Regions from separate parts of the Homo sapiens genome. Here regions 2 and 3 are each linked to region 1. Evidence: promoter capture Hi-C in human tissues and cell types (Jung and others, 2019). All regions are on one chromosome and are shown on one strand. Each heading gives the region's core, a stretch centred on a gene start or on the middle of the fragment in contact. The rest is flanking DNA. Distances are from core to core; before and after follow the strand shown.

The links. Contacts are between HindIII fragments. The study calls those that stand out against the background at their distance.
Region 2: a fragment that was not itself captured here is called in contact with the fragment with the promoter of UGGT2 in region 1 in 1 of the 25 tissues and cell types used here (dorsolateral prefrontal cortex).
Region 3: a contact is called between a fragment that was not itself captured here and the fragment with the promoter of UGGT2 in region 1, in 1 of the 25 tissues and cell types used here (dorsolateral prefrontal cortex).

What each region holds. Positions count from the first base shown.
Region 1 is chr13:96,051,196-96,055,701 of GRCh38, forward strand. UGGT2 (UDP-glucose glycoprotein glucosyltransferase 2) reads right to left here and starts at 2,206. Exons shown (of 39, transcript NM_020121.4): 1 at 1,960-2,206. The coding sequence starts at 2,117. RefSeq lists an enhancer at 1,968-2,467. The HindIII fragment of the contact is 5,467 bases long and covers 1-4,506 here.
Region 2 is chr13:97,117,808-97,121,889 of GRCh38, forward strand. No RefSeq gene overlaps it. Among named protein-coding and RNA genes, the nearest start is that of LINC00456, 60 kb to the right of the region's middle. The HindIII fragment of the contact is 3,950 bases long and covers 96-4,045 here.
Region 3 is chr13:97,317,701-97,322,128 of GRCh38, forward strand. All of the region lies in intron 2 of MBNL2 (muscleblind like splicing regulator 2), which reads left to right. Among named protein-coding and RNA genes, the nearest start is that of MBNL2, 98 kb to the left of the region's middle. The HindIII fragment of the contact is 6,416 bases long and covers 1-4,428 here.

The DNA of each region.
Region 1 (4,506 bases), core at 956-3,455:
GCTGGAAACCATCATTCTCAGCAAACTATCACAAGGATAGAAAACCAAACACCTCATGTTCTCACTCATAGGTGGGAACTGAACAATGAGAATACTTGGACACACAATGGGGAACATCACACACCAGGGCCTGTTGTGGGGTTGGGGGAGCGGGGGATAGCATTAGGAGATACACCTAATGTAAATGATGAGTTAATGGGTGCAGCACACCAACATGGCACATGTATATCTATGTACCTGCACGTTGTGCACATGTACCCTAGAACTTAAAGTATAATAATAAAAAAAATAGCTGGGACTTAATTAAACTAAACAGCTTTTGCACGGCAAAAGGAATAGTCAGCAGAGTAAACAGACAACCCACAAAACGGGAGAAAATCTTCACAATCTATACATCTGAAAAAGGATTAATATCCAGAATCTACAAGGAACTCAAATCAGCAGGAAAAAAAAAACAGTCCCATCAAAAAGTGGGCTAAGGACATGAATAGACAATTCTCAAAAGATATATAAATGGCTAACATGAAAAAATGCTCAACATACTAATGATCAGGGAAACACAAATCAAAACCACAATGCGATACCACCTTACTCCTGCAAGAATGGCCATAATAAAAAAATAAAAATAAATAATAGATGTTGGCGTGGATGCAGCGAACAGGGAACACTTCTACACTGCTGGTGGGAATGTAAACTAGTATAACCACTATGGAAAACAGTGTGGGGAGTCCTCAAAGTACTAAGAGTAGATCTACCATTTGATCCAGCAATCCCACTACTAGGTATCTACCCAGAGGAAAAGAAGTCATGAAAAAGATAGTTGCACAAGTATGTTTATAGCAGCACAATTCACAAGTGCAAAAATGTGGAACCAATCCAAATACCCATCAATCAACGAGTGGATAAACTGTGGCATATATATGATGGAACACTACTCAGCCATAAAAAGGAATCAATTAATGGCATTCACAGCAACCTGGATGAGATTAGAGACTATTATTCTAAGTGAAGTAAGTCAGAAATGGAAAACCAAATATAGTATGTTCTCACTGATATGTGGGAACTAAGCTATGAGGATGCAAAGGCATAAGATTGACACAATGGACTTCGGGGACTCGGGGGAAAGGTTGAGAAGGGAGTGAGGGATAAAAGACTACAAATTGGGTGCAGTGTATATACTGATGGGGTGATGGGTGTACCAAAATCTCAGAAATCACCACTAAAGAACTTACTCATGTAACCAAACACCACCTGTTCCCCAATAAACTATAGAAATGAAAAAAAAAAAGAACTTTTAGCATCAAATACATGAACTTATGTGGAGTCATGGAGTCTCTTTTTAGGGACACACACTGTTGCTGTGGTGAACAGCCATTAAGTCATTGGTGTAAAACTTCATTTTTGCTAAGAGAAAGAACTTTCTAATTTTACTCAACTAGAATACTAAAGGGCAAAATGCAATAGCTACAAGTTTTGTTCTGCAGAGTAAATGACAGGTCATGAACTAATTCCGTTGGAAGAGATACAGGAAAAATATTACCTTGCAGGAAGCTGCCCTCCCCATAGTAAGCCTAGGAGCTGATGGTATGATGTCATCATTACGAAACTAGGTACTTTAAGCACTGTCTGAACAGAACTGCCTACCCCAGTAGAAGCTCTTGCGTTAAGTGCCACGCGTAAATGCTAATACATCCCAACGTATTAAAGCAGGGCAGGGAAGCTTTAAAAATCGTAGGTAAAGTAAGACTGAGGGGGAAAGGAACTGCAAGTGAGTGCTGCACGGGAACCGAGAAGCCGCCCCGGGTCGGGAAGGAAGGAGGTGGTGATGCTCAGGGCCAGAGCGGGGGCGTCTGGAGAACCCGGGTGGGAGCCAGACACCCGCTGCGAGCACGAAGAAAGCGCGGCTGAGGGTGGCAGCGCGCCCACACCCGCCCGGACGAGGGCCCGGCCCGCACCCACCTTGCCTCCAGCAGCAGCGGGGTCTCGGGCCACTTCGCGGCCAAGTGGGCAGTCACCGACTTGGACGCGGCGACCGTCCCGGAGCCGAGCTGCGAAAGCCACAGCGCTGTGGAGCCTAGTAGCAGCCGCACCACGTTCGTGGCTTTCGCTGGCGCCATGGCACGGAGAGAAAAGCGCGAGTCCCTCGGACCCGGTACCCACAGTCTGTGGCCGCCACGCTTCGGCCGGCTCTTCCCGCTGCGCGGCTGCCCACTTCCGGTGGGAGGAGCTCGAGTCCGTTACTGGGTGCCGGGTCCAGACCGGCGCATGCGTGTCCCGCTCCGGCGCGGTTTAGTGGGTGCGGCCTGGAGAGCCCACGCCAGCCGGACACTGGGCCACGTCGGAGCCGCCGGGGCGGCGCCGGGTTGCTGAGCGGCGTCACAGATGCTCCCGCGGGTCCGCTCCCGCGGGTCCATTCCCAGGACTTTGGGTTCTCGGACAGAGGCCTTAGGACACGGGGCGGGAAGCTGGCTCTCCAGACCGAACTAGGGCTCTGGAGTTGCCAAAATCTGGAAGCAAAGTCAGGACCACTTGCATATTGTCCACCTTTTACATAGGAGGAAAATAAGTCCAGTTAAAGTTGAAGTCCCCACCTCACGCAGTTCTCAAGTGTTACTACAGGTTGGAATCACCTGGGAGAGCTTTTATAAGGCCGCCGCCAAGGCCACGCCCCGTACCTGAGAATCTCGGGAGGGGGGGTGAGATGCGGCATCAGTAGTATTAGTTAAAATCCGCAGGCCGGGCGCGGTGGCTCACGCCTGTAATCCCAGCACTTTGGGAGGCCGAGGCGGGCGGATCACGAGGTCAGGAGATCGAGACCATCCTGGCTAAAACGGTGAAACCCCGTCTCTACTAAAAATACAAAAAATTAGCCGGGCGTAGTGGCGGGCGCCTGTAGTCCCAGCTACTTGGGAGGCTGAGGCAGGAGAATGGCGTGAACCCAGGAGGCGGAGCTTGCAGTGAGCCGAGATCCCGCCACTGCACTCCAGCCTGGGCAACAGAGCGAGACTCCGTCTCAAAAAAAAAAAAAAAAAAAAAATCCGCAGGTGATTCCAGTGTCCAATCATGTTAGGAAACCCGTGACTTACGGGTGGCTCTCAAACTTTAACCACTTGCTTGTTAAAACACTGCAGAGTGGTGGGCCTCCCCACAGTGTTTCGGATTCAGTAGAGCCCTTGCGGGGGCCGAGAACTTGCATTTTATTTCTCCCAAGTTCGCAGATAATACTAGTGGCTAGAAATCACACTGGAGCCTTTTCCATTGGAAGGTGTGGTCCAGGGTAGGCTTCAGCTGTGAGCTCAATGGAAATGCAGAAGCTCAGGCCCCGCCCCAGACCTAATGAATCAAGATCTCCAATTTAACGGGAACCACAGGTGATTCCTATGCACAGGAAAGGTGGAGAAGAGTGATTTAGAGGATTACATTTAAAAGTGCACAGAAAAGTGCCAATAAGCCTGAGCATGGTGGCTCACGCCTGTAGTCCCAGCACTTTGGAAGGTCGAGGCGGGAAGGTAGCTTAAGCCGAGGAGGTAGAGGCTGCAGAAAACGGTGATTGCGCCACTGCCCTCCAACCTGGGCGAAAGAGGGAGACCGTGTCTCAAAAAAACAAACAAACAAAAGGCCAATACGTGATAGTTGTTTTGTCAGAGTAAAATATATGGTAAAAGAGTTTAGCGGATGCACGGATTCATTGCTTTTTTTCTCTCCTGTTACTCCTTTGCCCTGCAGGGAAGCTGGATCTCTTGAAGTTGCGGAAACATAGTCATTCCCTTTTTTCGTTTCATTTGCTTAGTCAGTACCCTTCCTTAGAAAACCCTATTCCGCTAAGCAGTTCCACGAATTTCCAGAATAATTTCTCACTTCCAAAGTTTAGCCTTCATTTCCTGATTTATCCTACTTGGTATGATCTATCCTTACTTTAAATTTCCTCTTTATTGTAACTGCCATATAGCACTTAAGTTCTCACTTTAATACTTGAGTACGCTACTTACTTATTTCTCCTGTGAGAGATAGTATATTCCCCCAGAACTCATGCCTTGTTCATCTTTGGCATCCCGTGCAGTACCTAGCACAATACTTCACATTCACATGTTATTTGGGGACTCCATGAAGATTGAAGAACCCTTGCTTTATGGAAAGAATGTAGAAAGCTAAGGCAAATGCACTTCATTTCTATCCATAGTGTATACGAGAAAAATACATTACGAATCTTTCACAATTATTTGCTTTAATTAACTCCCCATTTCCACTCATATTTAGACCGAAATTTTTATTGAGATTGTGGGATTAAGGAAATAAAATATTGACAGTGAATGTCTTACATGTCAGCATATCCAATGGACTGCAAATCTTTAAGAAATAATTGGCCATATAAAAGGCACATTAAATAGACTATTAAAGGACACTAATAAAATGTATATTAGTAAAAATTTCACTATATGTGAGTTCAGAATAGTGAGAATGCTCATTTCTCTTTTAAAGAGAATAAAATTAATCTAATCTAGGCCA
Region 2 (4,082 bases), core at 821-3,320, 1.1 Mb after region 1:
CAGAAGACCAATCTGCCCCACATCTCCATTGTTGCTGGACTTCTCCATTTATACATCCTAACGGGCTTCACACAGAACCTATCCAAAACAGAACCACACAAGTTCAAGTTGTATTCCATGCTCCACATCTCAATGAGCAGTTGTTACTCAAGGTTACCCAGACCACAGGTTAGTGAGTCCCATTTGGACTCCTCTCTACCTGCTCTCCATTCAGTTGTCAAGTTCTATCAACTTCTTTTTCAATTTCCTTTCACATTTCTCTTTCTTTCTAGCTCCAATACTATTGCTCTAATTCAGGCTACTTTAATTTTTTCCTAGTCTGGAAGAATGTTTTATTCATAGGACATTTTCAATAACTATCAGTTAAATGGCTGGACGACTATAGAAGCTTCCTTTTAACTGGCAATCCTGCCTCCCAGACAATTGTGCTATATGCCTTTCATTTATACCCCATGCTTTAATGAAAGTTCTAGAACATAAAGTGGATCATGTCGCTCTTGGAGGTAGTAGCACTGCACACACCATACACCCCATCTTGCTTGTCTTACCCAACATGGTCTCACCTGCTCTTCAATCTGTCCTTCCAAGCACTTACGTAGCATCTGCTGCCTCCACAGGATCTACTGGACTTTGTTCCTCAGTGTTCATCCCACGCCCCAGCCTTACCAAATTCCTGTTTCAATCTGACCCATTTCTGGGAGTTATTTTAGTATCACATCTTTACCTCCACTCGGGATATTGTTTTTCACTTAGGCCTTGTGCCAGATTATCTCTTTCCCCCTTTCTGTGTTCTGGATCACAGGGGCTTCGAAGCCTGGGAACTACATTTCCCAGAAGCCTCCTTCAATTCTGTGAATAGGAAGATCTTAAGTGAAATTCAGAGGTAGAAGAGAAGGAGACAGAAGTATTGTTCCTGTGGCAGCAACAGTCAGGTTTAGGGACTTTTGCAGATGGCCTGCGTGAGATTTGACCATGACTTCCAAGAGTCCTTTTGTAAATCACCTATAGGGCTGTTGCAGGCATCTGAGATCTTGATTAAAGTTTCCTGCAATTCCTGAACTTCCTGATTTCCTAAATTCTTTTTTAATATTTTTACTTTTTAATTATTAATTGACAAATTATAGTTGTAAGTTTTCTTAAATTCTAAAAGCAGCTCTTACTGACCTTTGTTCCCTTAGCCTCCCAAAGGTCTTGTGAACCTTAAACTCCCTGCATCAAATCTTTTCTGCTGGAAATATCTGCAGTGGTTTCTCCTTTCTCAACCAAACCTTGACTACCACAAATCAGGCAGTCTATTATATGGAAATGATTTTAAGCCAAGTCTCAGCTTCAAGCTTGCTAAGATGTAGCCTTTTATTCCCTCTGTGGTTGCAGAAATCTATAAGATTCCATGCCTGCTTACGTTCCTGGCTTGTGTTTTGGGTCCATTGCATGCATTCAACCCCACGTGGTGGATCCCAGCCCACTTGGCTAAGACTTTGGTGCCTTTCCTAAATTTTACTGGCCTGTCATATGAGGGAACTTAACTCTCACCCCTTAACTCTCATGCCTACTCTACCTCTTGAAGTCGTGCTCTGAATTGGACAACCTTTCTGGAACCAAAGGGCTGCCATCACTCAACTTCAATATTTACTACTGCCTGGAAACATCTGCTCTAGTTCTTTACTCATTCTTTGGCTATAATCTCCTTTTTGGTTCCAGTCAATGTGATTAACCATTAAATCCTCGCCCCCTCTCTCCAGGTGACAAATCATACGCCAACTTTGCTGTTGTGACCTGGTCATGCCTCATCCCTCTTTTGTTCTAGTCTCTTTTCTTCTATTCTAGTCTGGACTTGAAGTCCCAGCACACTCCTCAGTTGGGCCTGTCAAGGTTATAGCATTAAGCTAATAACATAGCAATTCCTTAAAAGCATAGCATTTTTCTATCCTGTCATTTCACTTCAAGTCCTTCTTGTAGCCAGCCTCAAGTTGGGATATAACTTATAATTACAAAAGGAAGTTACTAGGATCATAATGCATATATATTATATTATTGAACATAGAAGCATTACTCTGGTCAGAAACACTCATGGCAGATCTTCAAATTCCTGATGGCACCTGCTCTTTTCTTGCTACATACAATATTACATCATGGTAACTTGTTTTACTTTTTTCTAATATACACTATTTCCAAGAGCGTATTCATTGTCCTGAGGAATCTCTCATTCCATATTTCAGGGATCAGTGATATGTGTATACTCCACTTTTGAATCAGCCCTCTGTAGTTCCTGTGTGATGCTGAAAGAGTTCTTTCTTTTCTCTGGCATTCTCTCGGCTTTTCCTCTCTGGAAAATTTTTGTAACCACATGTGTACATTTAGTACCACAGACTTTTCTTCAAGTGATAATTTATGGAAAACCAATCCATGTGCATTACGAGTGCCAATGTTGTAAGTCCATATAATCATATAATTTCAGGATCAGTTTCAGCCAGAAAACAGAGAAATCAATCTTTGGTATGCTGGCACAATCCTCATATCCACATTCAGAAGGGGATACTGAGTGGGAAAAATCATGGCAGTAATCATTTTACCTGCCTCTGCTCTTAATATTTCAGTGGAGAAATAATTTCTGCTAAAAATTAGGTATGGACATGCTACCTATTCTTCTTGGAAATATTTTAAAAGAGATTCCACCCACCTATCACATGGTTCTGCAGGATGAATCATGAGCTCTGTAATGCCACCAAAAGGCAGATTCTCACACATTTGCTCATGGACCTCCTGGCTGGAGAGATTGGCTGTTCAGATCTGTCATGTTTAGTCATGTACCAGTGATGTGCACTTTCCTTGGCACAAGGGCAATGGGGTCACTCCATTCGTCTTCAATGTCTGACTTCATTTTAGGGCTTCATCCTTTTCTTCTCTCTCTTGCCATCAAGTCTTGCTTCGGTCAGTTTCCAAAATCCAATTGCCTGCTTGCTGATGAGGGTTTCCATGGCAACTTCCATTGGTGGCATTATTGCCTCCATTGCTCCATTTGGTCTCTGCTTTGTGGCACTAAGCTCTTCTTTCCAGGTTAGACCTAAACATTCCTGATTCTCTTTCCAGCCTCTTTGTTCTTATATTGTGCTTGACTTGGATCAGAGCCTCTCTGAGTTCAATTTCCATATTGAATTTTGTTCTCAGACCAACCAGAGAGAATCAGAATCCCAGTCCACCCTGCAATAAACATATACCCATTCCTGGACCCCACCTAGAAATAATTCTACATGTTAACTACTTGAAAACTCACTTAATCATCATTTCTTTCTTATTGTCTTATATATATCTTTTTTCAGGTGCATTCCTCTGGTTGGAAATGTTTATTAGTCATTCACTCCTTAGTGTAAAATGACTCTATCACCCAGTGAGAAATTGGCAGTCCTGAATAAAGGTGGAAGATTGAGAAGTGGGCGTGTGGGGCAAGAGGTCATTTTTAAATGTAAAAAACTATGAAACAAGAAGGGAGATGATTCCTTCTATAGGGAGATGTTCCAAAAACATAAAGATTCTAGAGCTGGAGGAAATGAGACAGCACTTTGAGGAACAGAGTTTGGCGGTGCTGTTGATAAAGGAAGGTAAAAGGACAAAATCATTCAATTTGTAGACTTCTTCAGCACATTGGTGACAGTGCCTGCAACTGACTACTGGAAGCCACTGCCTTTTGCCCTTGACATGCTTTGGTAGGTTGTGTTGCCTATGTTTGTGCTGTATGTTACCAGATACAAATTTAAATCTTCCTCATGTAGTATTCTTAAAGAAACATCAGACGCATTTCAGATCTATCCCACTCTACCTAGAAGATGGACTTCGTTTCTTCCTTCCACATTCTTATTCTCTTTCCTCCTCTCCACTTTAATCTCTTCAGGAAAAGGCACATCAGTAGCCAGGCACAGTGGCTCATGCCTGTAATTCTAGCACTTTTGAGAGGCCAAGGAGAGAGGATTTCTTGAGCCCAGGAGTTCGAGGCTGCAGTGAGCCATGATCACCGCACTGCACTCCAGCCTGGGTGAGAGAACGAGACTCTGTCTCAAAACAAACAAACAAACAAACAAAAAGGC
Region 3 (4,428 bases), core at 629-3,128, 1.3 Mb after region 1:
GCAGTGGCCTACTTTGGTTATTCACTTCAATTATTAGTTTGAAGTATTAAAAGCCAACCATATTTATAAAATATACTCGATCACTTTAATGGGATTTTGAAAACTGTATGATTTATGAAACATTACATAGATCCTTCTGGCTAATATTATACTTAAATATTACTTATTACCATGCTTTCTTCCCTTCCATTCATGTGTATATGCATTGCAGATTTATGTATGTAGAGTTTCTCAAAGATAAGAACAGTTTGCTTTTCATCTTTGTAGCCCCTTGGGCCTAGCACAGTACCAGACATAAAGTAGGAATCAATAATTTGTATTCAGAGAGTGTGGTGGTTCTGGAGCCAGGCTGAGTAGGTTCAAGTCTGGATCTTCCTCTTACTAGCTGTGTCACTTTAGACAAGTTATCTAACCTCTCTGTGCCTTGGTTTCCACATCTGCAAAATGGGCATAAAAATAAGACCTACCTGAAAGGCATATTGTGAACACTAAGGAGATCATTCCTGTAAAGCACTTAGAGGCATGCTTGGCACATTGTGAGAATTCGGCAAACATAATTAGTTTTTATAACCATATGAATGTGTGGAAGAAGTATAGTGATTAAGAGCAGTGGCTTTGGAGTCACACTGCCTGGGTTCAAATCCTGGTTCTGTATCTTGCTACTTGCACACCCTAGGACAAGATCATTCATCTCCTCAGGCCTCAGTTCTCTGTCTGTCAAATAGGGATATTAAGAGCACCTCCCCCTCTCAAATGTTTGTCTGAGATTTTGCATGTGAAACAGCACGGTGTCTAGCATGCATCTAATGAGTAAAAATAATAACAATGGTATTTGACTGCATTCAAAAGCTGTTACCAAGTATTATTACCATCTATGTAATTCCTTTTTAAAAAATAAAAAATTGGACTTCATAATAATGCATCAATTCAGTTTGTAAATACATTTGACTAGCAGTTTCTGGACTACCCAGAGCTTAAGTATCCAGCCAGCAGTGACAGATGAAGAACAGCTGGGGTTTGCTGAGGGAAAAGACTTCTTCCACAGTTTACAGGCAGGTCCTAAGAGAAAGAGGAAGTAATGTCATAGCTCACTAAGTTGGGCTGAATTTGACCAGAAGAGACCCCAGGGTCTGAAGTTAGTTCTGCCCACTGGGACACAGAGATGGAGATTTCAATGCTGTGAGCCTGGGTGTGTTGTCTCAAGGTCTCCGCCCTCTCTAGGTACGTACTGGAGAAACATGCAGCAGCAGGAATTCTGAGAAAAATTAGCAGGTATCTACTGAGGGTGGACCACAGTGAAGAAAAACCCTGGATGGGGACCCTCAGAAAGGGTGAGTGAGCAACAGCTGCACAGCAGGGGACACAGGACCCCAGCCTACAGGCAGGGTTTTCTGGAGGCAAAGGCAAAAGGCAGAGCTTCACTCTGGTAAGGAGCCTGGAGGGAGGCAGGTTCTCAGACCTTGAACTTGGAGGCAAAAAGAGAAGCCTGCGGGACCCTGTAGCATAAGACGTGGGACACCCGGCGGGTGTTAGGGCTTGAAACAGAGCAGCTGTCTAGTCAAAGCTAGGGCCATGAGTCAGCATCAGCTGGTGCAAAGATTCAGTGTCACTTGAGGATTGATTCTGGGGACTTGGGTCTCACTGGGGGAGTGCTGGCCAGGCGGGAGCTCTGGCAATGACCAAGGGCACTAAAGGCTGGGCCTGATGAGAAGGAATGAATAGGCAGGGTGGTCGTGAGGGTGATAGAAGACTCCAGCTGAATAGAGCAGGCCTCTCCCCTGTCCTCCTCCCTACCACTGTCCCTCTGTATGTCAAAGTGCCAGCGAAGATGACCCCACCCGTGTCACGGGTGAGACTCTGCCAATGCACATCTATCTAGCTTGTAAAAGCAACTCCAAATTAATTGCTGGCCACATTCACCCATTTTCTTTGACTTCCATCCTGCTAGACTGAATGATTTTCTTTCCCCTCCATGCAATTTTAATATCAAGGATGATTTTTATCAAGTCATTCTCTGTAATCAGAATACAAAAATTATCCCAACATTTCTCTTTGAAAATGGATCTTCAGAGACCCAGTAGCCCTTTATGCATTACTAATGAGTTCTTTAGTGAAACATTTTGTCTTTTACTAAAATAAATCTCTTCTATTAAATCTTCCGTGGGAAAAATCGGATGGCATTTAAGCTGACTAGTTTCACTGGTAGAAAATCATCGTACTTGTTAGGGATTTGGGGGTTGTTATAGTTTATTTTTGAGCAAATAGGGAGATCTCATTACCTAAGATCATGAAAAAAATTGAATACACATTCACAGAAACAACTCTTAGTGTTGGAGGAGACTGTAGTATTTTGCTGGTGTAACCGCCAATCTCAAGACAAAATACATTATCTAACATTTGTTAGAGGTGGCTGTGCTCGCTTCCCAAGGCTGCTATAACCAGTATCATAAACTGGATGGCTTAGAGCAACAGAAATTTATATTCTTACAGTTGTGGAGGCCAGAGGTCCAAAATCCAAGGGTCAAAGGCTATGCTCCCTCAGAAGATTCTCTGGAAGGGTCTTTTTTTTTTTTTTTTGAGACAGTCTCTCACTCTGTCACCCAGGCTGCAGTGCAATGGTGCGATCTCGGCTCACTGCAACCTCCGCCTCCCGGGTTCAAGAGATTCTGCCTCAGCCTCCCGAGTAGCTGGGACTACAGGTGTGTGTCACCATGCCCGGCTAATTTTTTGTATTTTTAGTAGAGCCGGGGTTTCACCATGTTAGCCAGGATGGTCTTGATCTCCGGACCTCATGATCCACCCACCTCAGGCTCCCAAAGTGCTGGAATTACAGGCGTGAGCCACTGCTCCCAGCCTGGAAGGGTCTATTTTAGACCTCTCTCACAGCTCTGATAGCCTCAGCCATTCCTTGGCTTAAAGATGGCCATCTTCGGCCACGCAGGGTGGCTCATGCCTATAATCCCAGCACTTTGGGAGGCCGAGGTGGGTGGATCACCTGAGATTAAGAGTTCGAGACCAGCCTGGCCAACATGGTAAAACCCCATCTCTATTAAAAATACAAAAAATTAGCCGGGCATGGTGGTGGGTGCCTGTAATCCCAGTTACTTGGGAGACTGAGGCAGGAGAATCGCTTGAACCCGGGAGGCGGAGGTTGCAGTGAGCCGAGATCGCACCACTGCACTCCAGCCTGGGCGACAGGATAAGACTCTGTCTTAAAAACAAAAAGATAGCCATATTTTCCCTGTGTCTCTTTCACATCGTCTTCCCTCTATGCATGGATCTCTGTGACTAAATTTTCTCTTTTTATAAGGACACCAGTCATACTGGATTAGAGTCCACCCTAATGTCCTCCCTGTAACTTGATTACATCTGTCAAGACCCTACTTCCAACTAGGATCCCATGCTGAGATTCTGTGGGTTAGGACTTCCACATGCAGGGAGACACAATTCAACATGGTCAACCAGGGCACTCTGGCCTTGTCACAGTATATTTATAATAAGATGTGATATTCAAAATATTTTACCATAAGTACCTCCCAGATGGGCAGCAGCCAATCAGAGTGCACCACAGCTAGTCCCGGAAACCCCCTGCTGTGTGGGTTTAACTCTTTGATTGCTGGGGTCCAGGAGGGGAAGATGCTGGGACTGTGGAAGAGGCACTGGAGTGGCCAGAGAAGCAGGGAAAACACTTGACATTTAACAGGCTTGGGACAGTGTCTGTTTTCTACTATCCACTGTCACCTCCATCGAGTGCATTATCATGCAAAGTCACTCATTCTGTTTTAAACAAATCTCACATATTGAGCCAAAAATCTGTAACCCCATAGTGTCTCCCATGGACCACAGCAGGCGATGGAGAAGGCACGTGTTTTGGTGAGGGAAGAGCAGTATTTAGCCCTGGTTGACTTTAACAACATGACCTGGAAATTACCTTAAATCTCTCTGAGCCTCATTTCCTTACCTTTAAATTGGGGTAACAGAAAACAAGAATATTGTGAAGGTCTAATAAGACAGGGTGTGAAGAATGCTTTTTAAGGTGTGATATAGAAGTTCCATCGTGAGTTTCTTAAAAGCAGCTCTGGGTAGTGCTGACGGCACAGAGTCCCAGGCCAGCCAGCTTGACTGACTGCACAGATCTGCCACTTACTTACTAGCTGTATGCCCATGGAAAGTTATCTCCCCCTCTCTGTGCCTCTGTTTCATCCCATAAAATGGGATTATTAACATTACCTCTGCTAAGAGCTTGTAGTGAAGACTAAATGGGTATGATCTCTAAGAAGCACTTAGAAACTGCCTGGTAGATGATATGTACAACGTTATATAAGTCTCTGCTATTTTTATCGAGGGCAGGGCCACAGCTTACAGTCCTGTGTGCAATTCCTTCCCAGTTTCTGGCATAGAGCAGATGCTCCAAAACTGTCAGATGAG